Linked DNA regions of Homo sapiens: region 2 is linked to region 1. The links are contacts of gene promoters, found by promoter capture Hi-C in blood cells and fetal thymus (Javierre and others, 2016). All regions are on one chromosome and are shown on one strand. The core of a region is centred on a gene start or on the middle of the fragment in contact, and the rest is flanking DNA. Distances in the headings are between cores, read along the strand shown. Region 1 holds the start of S100A6 (S100 calcium binding protein A6). Region 2 overlaps INTS3 (integrator complex subunit 3).

What was found. Contacts are between HindIII fragments. The CHiCAGO score rates a contact against its expected background, and 5 or more counts as called.
Region 2: a fragment that was not itself captured here is called in contact with the fragment with the promoter of S100A6 in region 1 in 1 of 17 cell types (M0 macrophages); the score reaches 5.0 in M0 macrophages.

The regions. Positions count from the first base shown.
Region 1 is chr1:153,531,731-153,539,349 of GRCh38, forward strand. S100A6 (S100 calcium binding protein A6) reads right to left here and starts at 4,261. Exons shown (of 3, transcript NM_014624.4): 1 at 4,219-4,261; 2 at 3,472-3,630; 3 at 2,869-3,100. The coding sequence starts at 3,609. The coding sequence ends at 2,966. It overlaps S100A5 (S100 calcium binding protein A5), which reads right to left. Exons shown (of 3, transcript NM_001394232.1): 3 at 5,417-5,706. The coding sequence ends at 5,566. LOC124904423 (a long non-coding RNA gene) reads left to right here and starts at 1,712. Exons shown (of 2, transcript XR_007066630.1): 1 at 1,712-2,191; 2 at 3,174-5,945. RefSeq lists a cis regulatory region at 499-826 and enhancers at 2,003-2,297, 4,251-4,886. The HindIII fragment of the contact is 28,060 bases long and covers 1-7,619 here.
Region 2 is chr1:153,763,770-153,771,388 of GRCh38, forward strand. INTS3 (integrator complex subunit 3) reads left to right here. Exons shown (of 30, transcript NM_023015.5): 17 at 63-117; 18 at 349-452; 19 at 921-965; 20 at 1,175-1,294; 21 at 3,905-4,058; 22 at 5,124-5,192; 23 at 6,000-6,075; 24 at 6,429-6,542; 25 at 6,916-6,964. Among named protein-coding and RNA genes, the nearest start is that of SLC27A3, 7.8 kb to the right of the region's middle. The HindIII fragment of the contact is 5,932 bases long and covers 1-5,652 here.

The DNA of each region.
Region 1 (7,619 bases), core at 3,011-5,510:
AATGGCTTCCCTGTAGCTCCCTCTTGTCACTTGTCCAGTGGGGTTAATCATATATACTACACAGGCTGAGCACAGCGGCTCACATGGCTCACACCTTAATCCCAGCACTTTGGGAGGCCAAGTGGGGAGGATCACTTGAGGTCAGGAATTCAAGCCCAGCTTGAGCAAAACAGCAAGACCTCATCTCTACAAAAAATAAATTAGCCAGACATGTTGGTGTACACCTGTAGTCCTAGATACTCGGGAGGCTGAGGTGAGAGGATCACTTGAGCCCAGGAGTTGGAGGCTGCAGTGAGCTATGATAGTGTCACTGCACTCTATCCTGGGCAACAGAGAGAGACAGTCTCTAAAAAATTAAAATAAAATAATACATACTACACACAAATCTTCTAAGATGACAAGAGGCAATGGCTATGATAGGTGCCTCACAAAAATGAAGCTGCTATAAAAATGTGGTCCTATACAAAGGTGGTGGCATTATTCTTGACAATTTCCTTTTTGCTTGGCAAAAAACAGAGAGCTACTTCCTGTGACTCAGTCCTAAACCCCCTAACTGGGGCCTGCCCCAGTTTACAGAGATGGTCTGTGGTGCTGCTGTTGCAGCTTCACCAATGTTAGGGTGATTAGATTGTAGGATTAATGTCAGTAATGGGAGGACCTCAACTGAAGGAAGTGGAGAGACTAGAGCCACTCCCACTGCTCAACCTTCAGAGAAGCAAAGTGACCTCTCATGAAGCCCTCAGCTCACATCCTAACTTTTCCCCATCCTGTAAGCCCACACCATACTCAACAGTGAGCTGAAAGGATTCAATTCCAACTTTAAATTGGTCGGAGCAATAAAACGTCCAGTCTATGCACCTCTCCACACCCAATTCCACCATTTGACTGCTGCACCTACCATATTCCATTGTAAATGCTGCTTCCCTCCCCTATCCTGCGAGAAAAAAAAAAAAAACCTAAAAAATTATACCCCTAAAGATTTGCTGTTTGTTTTGTTTTTTGTTTTATTCTTGAAATTCATGTTCCCTTTCCCCTCCACCACTGTGGAGAAGCAGAAACGAAAGGACACGCCTGTTTACTGAGCAGATGGACTGTGCACCTGTGTTGATTCTCCTGCACCGGTGGCCTGCCCACCCACCAGAGCTCCCCAGGAACGCCCGGCAGACGGCCTTGCCTGAGCATCCCCTCCCCGCAGCAGCGGGCTTCCTGTCACTGAAACTCCTCTTCCCTCTCCTCAGGGAGCATTGATTTGTACGAAGGTCTTCTAGCCCTGCAGGTTGGGGAGGGGAGGCGCAGGGTTCCGATTCCATTTGTCTTTACAAAGGGACCGCCTTTCCCTCATGGACTTGCTTATTGTAGGTGTGTCAATTGTGAAGCTGAGTTGCTTAATTCTAGGGCTGATTGCCGGGAGCTAAAGGATCCCCCTACCCTGACATTCCCGGGGCGCCCTATTCTGTCTTCCTCTTCCTAAGGACTCCCCTGACTGCCAGGCCACAGCCCCACGGCGGGCCCCTGCCAGAGGCTCAAGAAAACCAACCCGACTGTCCCCGCAGCGCCCTGCTCTCTGTCCACAGGAGGGCGCTCGCTCCGAACCCCAAGTTGTCAGCCACTGGAAGGCAGGCGGAGAGGGACTGGAAGAAAGGGGGAGGAAAGGGGTGTAGGGCGGGAACCTAGAGGGGCGCGGGAGGGGTTAGGGAGCGCGTACTTTTCCAGAGGGAGCTGAATAGAGCCAAGGCTTGGGCACGGCTGTGCAGAGAGGGAATTCGGCCCCCGGTCTCTTGCAACCAACAGCGCGACTTCTCCCTGCAGGGCAGGGGAGGCAATAGAGAAGGAGGGCCTCCAAGAAGGTGCATCTCCCAGCTGTTTACCAATCCCCACCCAGTGGGGACAGAAGACAACTTAATTCCACAAAGTTGGACCCCCAAGGGAAGTGGGGAGGTGAGAGGGAAAGAAGGATGTGGTCTCCATCTAAAGTCAAGATCTCTTCCCCAGAAGCTAGAGGTAAACTTGCCCAGCTCGGACTAGGCCTAGAGAGGCTGAATGATGTGGCATCACCCGGAAACAGCGTTTACCCTCCTTATCCTCTTCCCTTCTGCCTGAAAACACTAATCCAGATGATGGACAATGATTCAATTAGTCATCTTCTCTGATGGGGGCTGAGATCCAGGCTGGGATCCCGTGGAAGTGCCGGGTGAGTCATTACGCTGAGGCTGCAGGGATACCCCGCCCCATTACTGAACACCCCGTGGTTCACGTGTTGGTGCAGCTGCCAGCTCCTCAGACCACCGTTCCAACAAAAAGCCCTCACCCTGAATGCAGGGACACACTCCAAGAGTGTGCCTCCCCCACTCCACCTGGGACCTGGGCAGCCGCAGTAGACTCAGTCACACAGCGTCCTCACTGGTGTAGGAAACTCCCTGAGCCAAGCCTCAGGCATCTCAGATGTGCCCTATCTAACCCCTGCGCTGTGATGAGAAAGGGGACTTGCCCCACCCCAGGGCCCCTCTTGCCACACCCAGAGCAAAACACATCTGGGAGCCTCTGGGACTATCTCTGCCTCACTTCCAGGCCCCCAAACCCCATCACATCCCGGCCCAGGGACCATTTCCATCTCCAAGCTCATCCCAGGACTCTCTCTACTGGAAACCACTTGAGCCTTTCCTTAGGATGGCGTTGCCAAGAGGGGCATCTCTCCTCATTCACATAAAGGCACCTTATGTGCTAGAGGCAGCCTTGTCAGGGTGGGTCCTCTGGCCTGGCGAGTCAATGAGTCATTTTCAGAGGTTGACCGTGAGCAAATCTTCCAATGGCTGGTGTCCCACTAAGCCAAGGAGGAACAGAAATCATTCGGAAGCCAGGACGCAAGGGTAAATTTGACCAAAAAAAATTTATTGTACAATTACCCACCACTGGATTTGACTCAGAGAGGACCCCCAGAGGGTGTCTCCATCTTCCCTATTTATTTTCAGCCCTTGAGGGCTTCATTGTAGATCAAAGCCAAGGCCCCCAGGAAGGTGACATACTCCTGGAAGTTCACCTCCTGGTCCTTGTTCCGGTCCAAGTCTTCCATCAGCCTTGCAATTTCAGCATCCTGCAGCTTCTAATGTGTTAGAATGTGAAATCCATACTCAGTGGTGATGACAACCCTGGATTCTTCCCCTTCCCCCTCCCAGGCAATCCTCTCTGCAAGTGGCTCTGTGCTCCCTCATCACCAAGGACCCATGTCACTTTGGCATTGCTTCTCCTCAGCTACTTCTCAGTTACTGGTCCTCATTTGGAGAGATGGATATCCGGCTGGAAGCATCCCCTACCCGCTGGGAGAGTGGGTCTACAGCTCAGGGTCTACATGTGGACCAGGGCCTCAGAATGTGGGTAAATGTGAGTCAGATGCACCTGGCACCTCTCTCTCCCCTAATCCTGCTTCCAAAGGACAAGGGTGGGAAAAGGGGTCCTGGGGAGGAGGCCACTCACCGAGCCAATGGTGAGCTCCTTCTGGATCAGCTCCTTCAGCTCCTTCTTGCTCAGGGTGTGCTTGTCACCCTCCCTGCCGGAGTACTTGTGGAAGATGGCCACGAGGAGGCCAATGGCCTGATCCAGGGGGCATGCCATGGCTGAGGGCTGGGCTTGGAGCTGGCAGCAGAGGGCCTAGTCAGTGCCATGGGAGCAAGGACTTCTCACCCACACACCCCAATAATGCTGCCTGCACTAGCCCCGCCTCCTTTGGAACCACCCAGTCTCAGGCCACACACAATGGCATCAGGAGACAGCCCAGGGCTTGAAGGGGAAGGAGAGAGCACACTAGGGCCAAGGCAAGAGAGGTGGCTTAAGGATTCTAAGAAGCATATAGGAACAGTAGCTTTGGGCACAGCTGAGAACTGTCCTTCAGGGGATCCAGAAGTTGAGGAGTATGGCTGGGCAGGGGAGGGGAATGGAGGCTGCAAAGGCAGCTTAAACACAGCTTCACAGGGCCACACATGGTGGCAATGACACACCCAGGGCACTCCCTTCCGCACCCCAAAAGAGCACACCCCATTGCGATCCCTTAGCCCAAGGCCTGCCTGGCACAGCACTGCTGCTCCTGACTATCCCTCCAGCGGGGGAGCGCCACAGATGGCCCCAGTCTGGATCCAGCGGCTGAACTGGGCAGGGGATGGCTGGACCCCCAGCGTGAGGGCAGCTGGCCCTGGAAAGTACCCAGGGCTCCTGGAGAGAACTCACCGGTAGGGAGGCGGCCAAATGCGACGCGAGCGGTCGAGGGGATGGGCTGTGTCGCAGTCCGACTGGCCTTATAGCGGTCGGTGCCCCGGAGGCCAGCTCGGCCAAGCCCACCCCGCCCGCCCAAGTCCCGCCCGCGCCCCACCCTGCGCCGTGGCTTACACAACGCACATTCGCGGTTTACCCCCTCGACTTTCCACGCCTCCTGCCCGGGGCTGTTCCGGGTTAGGACGGGATGGGGGAGCCCAGCAGTGCCCACTGCACGCCTGGTGACGAGTCTCCCCTCATCTGCGCAGCTCAGTTTGCTCAGTTTGCTCTTCGTGACACGTGACTCGGCAAGGGGAGCAGGAGGAGGACTGCGGCGGTCACCCCTGCTTCCTCTGCCAGACCGTGAATGTGACCCTCGAGCCAGCGCAGCGTCAATGTGGGCAAGGAGGGCGCCTCACAGGATGCCGGTGTCCCACAGAGGATACTCAGGGTCACCCCAGAGGAGATAGGGGGAGTAGCCAGTGGTGTAAAGGATATCTACGGCGCCCATCCCCCACCAGCAACAAGTTCCTACCAACACCTCCACTCCTTCCCCTCAGTGCCCCAAATTCCATTCACTACAGCACCTTTGGTGTTAATGTGCATGCACGTGGGAGCCCAGCCCTGTAAGCACCATTCGTTATTTACGGGGGAGTGAAGGCCTTTTCAGACCCTCCCCTGAGAAAAGATTTTGATGGAGGAGGCAGGGAGAGAAGAAAGCACTGTCCCCCATAGATGATGAGAGTGGTGCTATTGAAGGGGAAATGGTGAAGAGGGAGGGGGCTGGTGTGGAGGCCAGACATGCCCTTCCTACAGGTGCTGCCAAGGTGGCCTCCGGTGAGCTGTGGACAAGTCAGGCCTGCCTGCCTATCACCGCCCTCAGGAGCCACTCCCAACCCCTCCCAGTGTCCTCCTCTCAAAGCAACTTTCCCTCTTAACTTCCTCTGCATCCTTGCAGAGTTCCCGCCTGGCCTAACTTCCCCATTTTCCAGGCAGGCAAAACTAAGCCATGACAAAACCAATGACGTCCACACCAAAGAAGGAGAGGAATGCAGTGGGAGCCCAGGACCCTAACCCCCAGAGGCAGAAGCTGTCTCAACCCACTCAAGGAGAGACCCTTCCTGTGCTCCCCTCTCCCCAGGCCAAGGTAGACAAGACAGCTTCAAAACCAGACTCCCAGCACCTGCGATGGAAACTTTATTTCCTCCCATGGAAGGGTCCATCTGGGAGGGAGAGGAGGGCAGGGGGCCAAAGAGGGTCTGTGAGAGGAGCAGCCGAGGTCAGCAGCAAAGGGTGGAGGGTGAGGGTGGAGGGCAGCCCTGGTCACTTGTTGTCCTCTAGAAAGAAGTCGTTGTAGGCCATGCACAGCATGGTCAGGAACACCGAGTACTCCTTGAAGTCGATCTCCTGGTCGCTGTTCTTGTCCAGGCTCTTCATCAAGTCATCGATGCTGCTCTCCTTCATCTTTTGTGGACCCAGGTGGAGAGACAGCTCAGACCCCGCTCCCAGCCCTGCCCTCGCACCACTGCATGGTGTCATCCCCACCCCGAAACTTCAGGGTGAGCCCCAGCTGAGTCAATGACACTGTCAGCATCTCGACCCCCAGAGTCTGCCCACTGCCCACACCTAGGGAAGGGCCTGGCATGAGGTAGGGGGTCAGGGACCTGACTCCTGAATGGAAATAAATGACAGCAGGAATGCTAGCCTAGCCTGCCTTCCCTGCAATACTGTCCCCCAGCCAAAGAAACAATCATCTAGGTTTTATACCAACACCTGATAAAAACAGCTTGCTGGGTCAGGTGTGGTGGCTCACACCTGTAATCCTAGCACTTTGGGAGGCCGAGGCGGGTGGATCACCTGACATCAGGAGTTCGAGACCAGCCTGACCAACATGGTGAAACCCTGTCTCTACTGAAAATACAAAATTAGCCAGGCATGGTGGTACATCCCTGTAATCCCAGCTATTTGGAAGGCTGAGGCAGGAGAATCGCTTGAACTTGAGAAGCGGAGGTTGCAGTAAGTAAGATCATGCCATTGCACTCCAGCCTGGGCAACAAGAATGAAACTCCTTCTCAAAAAAAAAAAAAGAACACCTTGCTGATTATGTGGCATTGAGCATTATCCAAGTCTCTGAGTGACTCTCTCCCCATTCTAAGGACTAGGTGAGAATAACCCCGGACAAAATGTCTCTCAATGAGAGCAGTGCACTGGGGCTGTGAAGCCACTGCATCCCTCCCCTGCTAGGAGAGCTGTGCAAGAGGCCTGCCTGGAGCCTGGTTGTGCACTGTTGTTCAGTCCCCTGATGTCCCAGCCTGGCTCCATTAGGACGATGGAGTCAGGGTCCTTTGGGTGGAACAGGAAGAAAATATAGACAAGCAGATCCTGATGTCTCCTCATCATTGCCGTCAGCTACAGGTTTTCACAGGAGACATTGGGACTTACAAAGGCGGAAACTGCTTGTCTGTCACGTGATCCTAGTCCCCAGCCTGGGCTCCTGTTATTGCCAGGCCCTCCTCTGGGCGTCTCTCCTTCTGTAATTAATCCCTGCTGGACCTGTGGCCCCTCCCTCTGCCCTCATTAACCTCCAGGATGCAGGCAGCCTGGCAGAAGGCCAGAGATCAGGCCTGGGGACGCCCATACCTGCTTCTGTCCCCTGCCCATGTGGCACACTGTGGACCTTCTTTCTGGGAGGGCCTACCAGGGCTCAAGGTGTGATAGATGGAGAGGCACCCAGGCTAAATTTTAAAGGAAACAGGGAGGATGATTCACAGGCCTGGCCCAGAACTCCAGCTCAGCCTCCCACTAGCGGATTGTCCTTAGGCAAGTTATTTGATGTATTTGAGCATTGATTTTTTTTAACTATAAAAATAATAAGACTAGGCACAGTGGCTCATGCCTGTAATTTCAGCACTTTGGGAGGCTGAGGCGATAGGATCATTTGAGGCCAGGAGTTCAAGAACAGCCTGGGTAAAATAGTGAGACCCCATCTCTACAAAAAATTTTAAAAATTATCTAAGCGTGGTGGTATTTGCTTGTAGTCCTAGCTTCTCAGGAGGCTGAGGTAAGAGGATCACTTGAGCCTGAAAGTTCAAGGCTACAGTGAGCCATGATCGCACCACTGCACTCTAACCTGGGTGACAGAGTGAGACTCTGTCTCAAAAATATTTATCCTTGGCCAGGCGCAGTGGCTCACGCCTGTAATCCCAACACTTTGGGAGTCCGAGGCAGATGGATCACGAGGTCAGGTGTTCGAGACCAGCCTGACCAACATGGTGAAACCCCCATCTCTACTAAAAATACAAAAATTAGCTGGGCGTGATGGTGCGTGCCTGTAATCCCAGCTACTGAAGAGGCTGAGGCAGGAGAATCGCTTGAAC
Region 2 (7,619 bases), core at 1,437-3,936, 230 kb after region 1:
GTGTGTCCTGCCCTCTGCTATCATTTATGTCCCTGGGATTTCCTCTCATTTCTGTCCTGCAGTGATACGGAGGCCCAGTGTGAGGTCATGCAGGAAATTGTGGACCAGGTCCTGGAGGTGAGGAGGAACCCAATCCCTTAGGGAGGAAGCAGCCTAGCCTGCTTAGCTTACACGTCTCCCAGGGAAGACAACTCACTTTTTCCCTCCCCTAGATGAGTCCCTCTTATAGTGGGGAGGGGAGCTTGCTGATCCTGGAGGTGGAAGCAGATGAGTTCCAAGACTGGGATCGTGGGGGCAGGAGGGCTTGGGTGTAGGTAGTGACTCTCCCTCCCTTGTCTCATCACCCAGGAAGACTTTGACTCGGAGCAGCTGTCTGTCCTTGCTTCCTGCCTACAGGAGCTCTTCAAGGCCCACTTTCGAGGGGAGGTCCTGCCTGAGGAGATTACTGAGGAGTAAGGCTGATTTTCCCTCACTCCAGAGCCTCAGGAGCCAGAGGGTGCTCTTACAGCCTGAGTCCAAGAGACCCCTTACTGTAGACTTGAGAAAAATCTGTTCACTTGGTGTTTTTATTCTCACATGTACCAACTCATTTAAACAAGAGCTTATTTCTACCTGCTGAACACCGTGCGTACTGGGGAGGTTGACACCTCCTCATGCTTCCAGCCCTTGCTGCTGGGCCCAGTAACTCTAATCTGCTGAATTAGGTGTGATTGGACCTTGGCCTGGAGCCTGTCTCCAAAGGGCAAGAGCGTGGTCCCATGTTAGGAACCTGTTTTCTCTGTTACCAAGCCTGCGGAGCAGCAGGAAGTTTGCCTTTTGGGTAGGGAAGGAGCAGGCTGGTGTCTAGCCTCCAGCTGGTCCTCCGTATGTGCCAGCAGCCCCCCTCACATGGATTCTCAAATATAACCCTCTTCTTGTAGGTCCCTGGAGGAGTCTGTAGGAAAGCCTCTGTACCTAATATTTAGGTAAGCACGCAGCTATAGGAGATACTGTTCTACCCTCCATCCTCCCTGACAGCACACACATGTGCTCCTGTCCTGGGGTAATGGGACTCGCTTTCCAGGGAGGAGGACATATGCTGTGGGCACAGACAGCCCATGCCACCTGAGAAACTCCATGGGAGAGTCTGCCCTGGGTAAAGTTCTGTTCCTCTCCTCCCATGCCCCACCTCCAGGAACCTATGTCAGATGCAGGAAGACAACAGCAGCTTCTCTCTACTTCTAGACCTTCTCTCCGAGCTATATCAGAAGCAGCCCAAGATTGGCTACCACCTGCTCTACTACCTGAGGGCCAGGTGGGTATGGTCCCCATGTTTCAAATGGTGTCAGGACACATCCTGGAGAGCCTCTCTTCCACACGCTGACTCCCCAACCCTGGACTGTCATCACCAGGGCCTTCTTTGTGGGTCTGTTTGGTTGAGTTGGTTTGTTTTTAAGAGACAGCATCTCACTCTGTCACCTGATGACACTGCGGCTCAGTGCATGTCACTCACTGCAGCTTCAGACTCCTGGGCTCAAGCCATCCTCCCCCCTCAGCATCCTGAGTAGCTGGGACTACACAGGCATGCACTACCATGCCCAGATAATTTTTTAAAATTTTTTTGTAGAGACAGGGTCTTACTTTGTTGCCCAGGATGGTCTCAAACTCCTGGGCTCAAGTGATGGTCCTGCTTCAGCCTCCTGAGTAGCTAGGATTACATACAGGCATGCGCCATCACGCCCAGTTATTGGTTTTGGGTTTTTTTTTCCCCTACTCTGAGTAAGCCTTGTGTACTCCTAAGGCTTTTTTTTAATTTAAATTTTTATTTATTTATTTTTTGAGACAGGGTCTCACTCAGTCACCCAGGCTGGAGTGCAGTGGTACAATCTCAGCTCACTGCAACTTCCACCTCCCGGGTTCAAGCAATTCTCCCACCTCAGCCTCCCAAGTAGCTAGGACTACAGGCACCCACCACCACGCCCAGCTAAGTTTTGTATTTTTAGTAGAGACAGGGTTTCTCTGTGTTGGTCAGGCTGGTCTCGAACTCCCGACCTCAGGTGATCCACCCACCTTGGCCTCCCAAAGTGCTGGGATTACAGGTGTGAGCCACTGTGCCCGGCCTCAATAATTTTTTAGTATATTCACAAAGTTATACAACTATCACTACTATCTGATTTAGAAAGAACATTTTTATCACCCCAAAAAGAAATCTCATACTCATTAGCAATCACTTTGCCATTTTCTCCCCTTCACCCAGCTCTTGGCAACCACTGATCTGCTTTCTGCCTCTATAGATTATTTTGGACATTTTCAGATAAATGGAATCAAACTGTATGTGATCTTTTGTGACTTGCTTTTTTCTTTCTCTTTTTTTTTTTTTTTTTTTTTTTTGAGACAGAGTCTCGCTGTGTCGCCCAGGCTGGAGTACAGTGGTGCGATCTTGGCTCACTGCAACCTCCGCTTCCCAGGTTCAAGCGATTCTCCTGCCTCAGCCTCCCGAGTAGCTGGGATTACAGGCACAGATCTTCACGCCCAGCTAATTTTTGTTTTGTTTATTTGTTTGTTTTGAGATGGATTCTTGCTCTGTCACCCAGGCTGGAGTACAGTGGTATGATCGCAGCTCATTGCAACCTCCGCCTCCTGGGTTCAAGCAATTCTCCTGCCTTAGCCTCCCGAGTAGCTGGGACTACAGGTGCACGCCACCACATCCAGTTAATTTTTGTATTTTTTTGTAGAGATGGGGTTTCACTGTGTTGGCCAGGCTGGTCTCGAACTCCTGACCTCAGGTGATCTGCCCACCTCGGCCTCTCAAAGTACTAGGATTATAGACGTGAGCCACCGGGCCCAGCCATTTGTATATTTTCTTTGGAGAAATATCTATTCAAAAATGTTCCTATTTTTAATTGAGTTATTTGTCTTTTTATTATTGACTTTTAAGATTTTTTTTTTTTTTTTTTTTGAGGCAGAGTCTCGCTCTGCTGCCCAGACTGGAGTGCAGTGGCGCGAGCTCCACTCACTGCAACCTCCGCATGCTAGGTTCCAGCAATTCTCCTGCCTCAGCCTGCTGAGTAGCTGAAATTACAGGCGCACACCACCACGCCCGGCTAACTTTTTGTGTGTGTATTTTTAGTAGAGACAGGGTTTCACCATGTTGGCCAGGCTGGTTGGCCAGGCTGGTCTTGAACTTCTGACCTCAGGTGATCCGCCCTTCTCTGCCTCCCAAAGCGCTGGGATTACAGGCATGAGCCACCATACCCGGCCAACTTTCAAGAATGTTTTTAAGATTTTGTTGCATACCAAAAGTGTTCTTTATATATTCTGGATGCAAGTCTCAGACATAATGATTTGCAAATATTTTTTCTTCCATTCTGCGAGTTTTAACTTTTTTGATAGCATCTTTTGAACAAAAAGTGCTAACTTTTTATGAAGCTAAATTTGTCTATTTTTTTCTTTTACCACTTGTGTTTTTGTTGTCATGAAGATTTACTCCTGTTTTCTCTTCTACAAGTTGTGTGGCTTTAATTCTTACATTTAGGCCTACAAGCCATTTTGAGCTAAGTTTGTATATGCTGTGAGGTGTCACTGCCCTCATGGTTAGAGCCCAGAAAGCAAGAGAGAAAGCCTTCTCCAGCCTGACCTGAGCCCTCCCTCTTCTGTTCCTGACTCTCATCCGGCAGTAGCTTCACTCACTGATCGTGGTTGGAGCCCTTTTGAGCTCTGGGGAAGGATGGACAGAAAGAAGAGTATCCCCTGGTTCCCCTGAGTTATCAAGCCCCTGTGGGAGGCAGTTGGGAGGGACATGAGGCAGATTAGCACAGGGCATCTGGAGCCAGCAAAGCAGTTTTAGAGCGGGAGCCTGCTTCGGGGATGCTTGAAGGTGGGCACTGGGGTCAGGCTGCTGGCTCAGGCCCAGCTGGTCTTGCAGCAAAGCCGCCGCAGGGAAGATGAACCTGTACGAGTCATTTGCCCAGGCTACCCAGCTGGGCGATCTGCACACCTGCCTGATGATGGACATGAAGGCCTGCCAGGAGGACGATGTGCGGCTCCTGTGCCACCTCACGCCCTCCATCTACACAGAGGTCAGTGCCTGCATCCGTATCTGTGCCGGGGGGCTCACAGGAACACACCTCAGTGAACACTCTGAGTACACACAACCCTGAACCCTCTTTTGTTCATCCCCACTAACCTAGGTGGGCCATTGCTTCCCACACTCACAGCTGTCCCCTCCTTCCACTTCTCTTTATTAGTGGTTGAAACATTTCTAAAACTCCCTGAATTCCTATACTTTGGTGTAACTGATGTGCGTTGGGGTCTGAGCCTATATACTTGGCTTCTCAGATTGGGCCCCATCATCTGGACCCAGGACAGATCCCACAAACCAGATCCATGTTCATATGTCCCAGGCCCTCTTGTCCTCTGATGGCTCACCCTTGCTTGGATTCTCTCTGATAGTTCCTGATGACCAGGGCTTCTGTAGTGGAGACTCACTTTCATTTCCCCTGGTTCACTCACACTCTAGGAACTGGGACATAACAGGTATCGGCCCTTTCTCCTCTTGGTAGAAGTTCCCAGGAAGAGGGAAATAAGGACCCAGGGCATGACAGGAGGAACTGTGATCTCAGCCGAGTACTGGAGGGAGGAGGGGTGCAGATCCTGGACACAGGGTACTTTCCTCCCCCTTCTCTAGATGAGGCCCTGCCTACCCCACACACCTCCAGACATAAACTCTCTACACCACCTCTTTGGCCAAAGGTCAGCACAGGTTGGACTTCTTTGCTGCCAGGGATGCAAATATTTATTCTACCACTGCTCCCACACAGAATCAGCCACCATGGCCAGTCCTCTCAGCTCTGGCTTTATCTCTAGTAGTTCCCCATTCCTTTCTGTACACACATGCTTTGGGAAGTATCAGAGAAAACCCACACCCCTGATGGTGTGCACACATAAATAACAAAACTTGGGGGCTTCAAGTTCTTGAAGTCTTCCAGCATCATAGCTGTTGGATCTCTGTTTAGGGGTTTATTTTAGGGCCTGTGTCTGGCTGACCCAGTCAAACCTTGAGATGTAATAAGGAAGGAGAGTGGGCTATGGGATAAAAGCTGAGGAGCCCATCCAGGACTCTTCCCCTCTCTTTTTCCATTTAGTTTCCAGATGAAACCTTGAGGAGCGGAGAGCTGCTGAACATGATCGTGGCTGTTATTGACTCTGCACAGGTGAACATTGAGCTCTGACCTCCCCAGAAGATCTGGGAGGCAGCATTAGGGACATAGGGCCTCTGCTCTCCCTCCAGGCCTGCAGACAGGGAGCCCATGCCTCCCAGGCACCCTCCCTCCTGGCTACAGTGGTGTGCGCTTTCAGCCATGGGGCCTGGGAAGGAAAAGTGGAACACAAGCAAGGCAGGCTGAGGTTAGGCCAATCCTGCCTGGAGTTCCCCTTATTCTCCATATTCTTTGGGCACTCCTGTTCCACAGCAAAAGCTGAGGGGGTTGTGATTTTAGCTCTCAACTGGCCTTTCCTTTGGCTCGGAATGAAAATGGTCAGACCATTTCTACTTGACCTTTTTACCATGCATAAGGTCCCCAAGAGGCTGTAGCTTTGCTCGGGTCCTTCTGAGGCCTGCACTGGGATCCCATTTCTCCTCCTCTCCACTTAGTTCTCATTCATAAAAGAGGAAGCTTAGCACCCAAGAATCCTCCTTCCTTTGTCTTTACCCTGCCCAACCTACATCCAGAGCCCAGCCTCTCAGGGTCCTTTCCTCCTCAGGCTTAGACCAAGGCTGTAACTATTTTTGCCCAAAATAGTCCTAAGGTTCCCACTCAGGCCTTACTTTATCAGCCCCTTCATCCTTCAGAGATGGCAGCATTCGTTGTGTGCCATCTCCTTCCCATTCCTTTAAACTGGGCCTTCACTTCCTCTAATTTTTTTTTTTCCCTTACGAGCCCTCCTGCGTCCCCCTCCATACTAGCTTCCTGGCCCCTTTCAGAGCTGATGGGTTCTGCCTCCTTCCTCCACCTCCTTAGCTCCAGGAGCTGGTCTGCCACGTGATGATGGGTAACCTGGTTATGTTTCGAAAAGACTCAGTTCTCAACATACTCAGTAAGTGATCAAATCTTTAGGTGCCTGGGAGAGGAGAGGAGGGCAGGGTGTCAGTCCTGTGTATTTTACACTATCAGGAAAGCTGGTTCTGGGGCTGGGAAGTTAAGGGGAGAGAATTGTACTCCACCCTGGTGCGGTCTGGGGCAGTATCTTTCTGGATCTGTCCTACCTCTGTAACATCCCTGCTTGGGGTGCTGGTAGTCAGTGGATTGGGGTGTGTGTGTGTGTGTGTGTGTGTGTGTGTGTGTGTGTGTGTGTGCTGGTAGTCAGTGGATGGGGGGGTGGGGGGGGTGTGTGTGTGTGTGTGTTCGTTTGTTCATTCTTGAGAGAGATGTTTCTTTTGTCTCTTCCAGTTCAGAGCCTAGACTGGGAGACCTTTGAGCAGTATTGTGCCTGGCAGCTCTTTCTGGCCCACAATATTCCCCTGGAGACCATAATCCCCATCCTGCAGCACCTCAAATACAAGGGTGAGTAGGCTTTTGGGTAGGGAGCACATCAGATATGACACTTCCTATACAGTTAGGGCAAGGCTGAGGCCTCTAGGCTTCTAGGATGAGCCCAGATCCATTGTCCTCCTTCCCACCAAAGTGCACAAGGGCAGGCTCTCTGTCAGCCACTTTTGTTCTTTAGGTGAGTCCTGTGGGCCCACCATGAGCCAGGCTCTGGGCTGGGGCTCAGGTGGCTCAGGGACTGATAGGAGTGGGGTAGGGGATTCTTCCTGGCTCCTCATCAAAGACTGTCCTTATTCCCTCCAGTGGCTGTTGGGGGATGAGAGAGGTCCCCAGATTCCATCCTGGAATCATACCTTCCCCCTGAACAGCCTCTGCCCTTCCCTCACAGAGCACCCAGAGGCCCTGTCCTGCCTACTGCTTCAACTCCGAAGAGAAAAGTGAGTTCCACTTCTGGGGCTCTTTAGCCCTCAATTTTAACATCCCAAGAGCTGCTGTGGTCTAAAGGGCTTCTGTCCTCCTCCTTATTGCCATATTTTTTCCTGTCGTTAACATCTGCTTATTCTGCCCTTCCCCCAACGTGACTTACAAATGAGCAGCTCCCCTGGGATCTGGGCTTCCTCTCGACTTTACCCCCCTGCCCACCAGGAGCTGCCCTCGGAGGTGGGGAGGTGGGGACCGGACATCCCTGTTTCCTGCTGCCACAGCAGTTCTAATCCCTGGTGGCTCCTGCTCCCCGCCGCGCCCCCCCCACCGCCCCATGCTCCTGCTGGCCACCGCACAGCTAATCCAAGAGGAGGGAGGGTCAGGGTAGAGGGGTCACGCACCATCCTCTCCCTCACCCTGTGCAGAGCAGAGCCAGCTGGACCTACTGTGCCTTGACAGGGTGGGGCAGAGAGGGAGAGGGTGGCAGCCCCCTCTTCCCGCAAAGCCCTTTAGCAACATCCCCCGATAAATGGGGCAGCAGCTGTGTATCTTATCCTTCCTACCTTTCTGCCTTCCTTCCACCCTTTCTGCTCTCTTGCCTGAGAGACTATAAATGGTACAGAGTGTCCTAGAGGAAGTGGGAAGCTTGGAGGCTGTATGGGGCTGTGA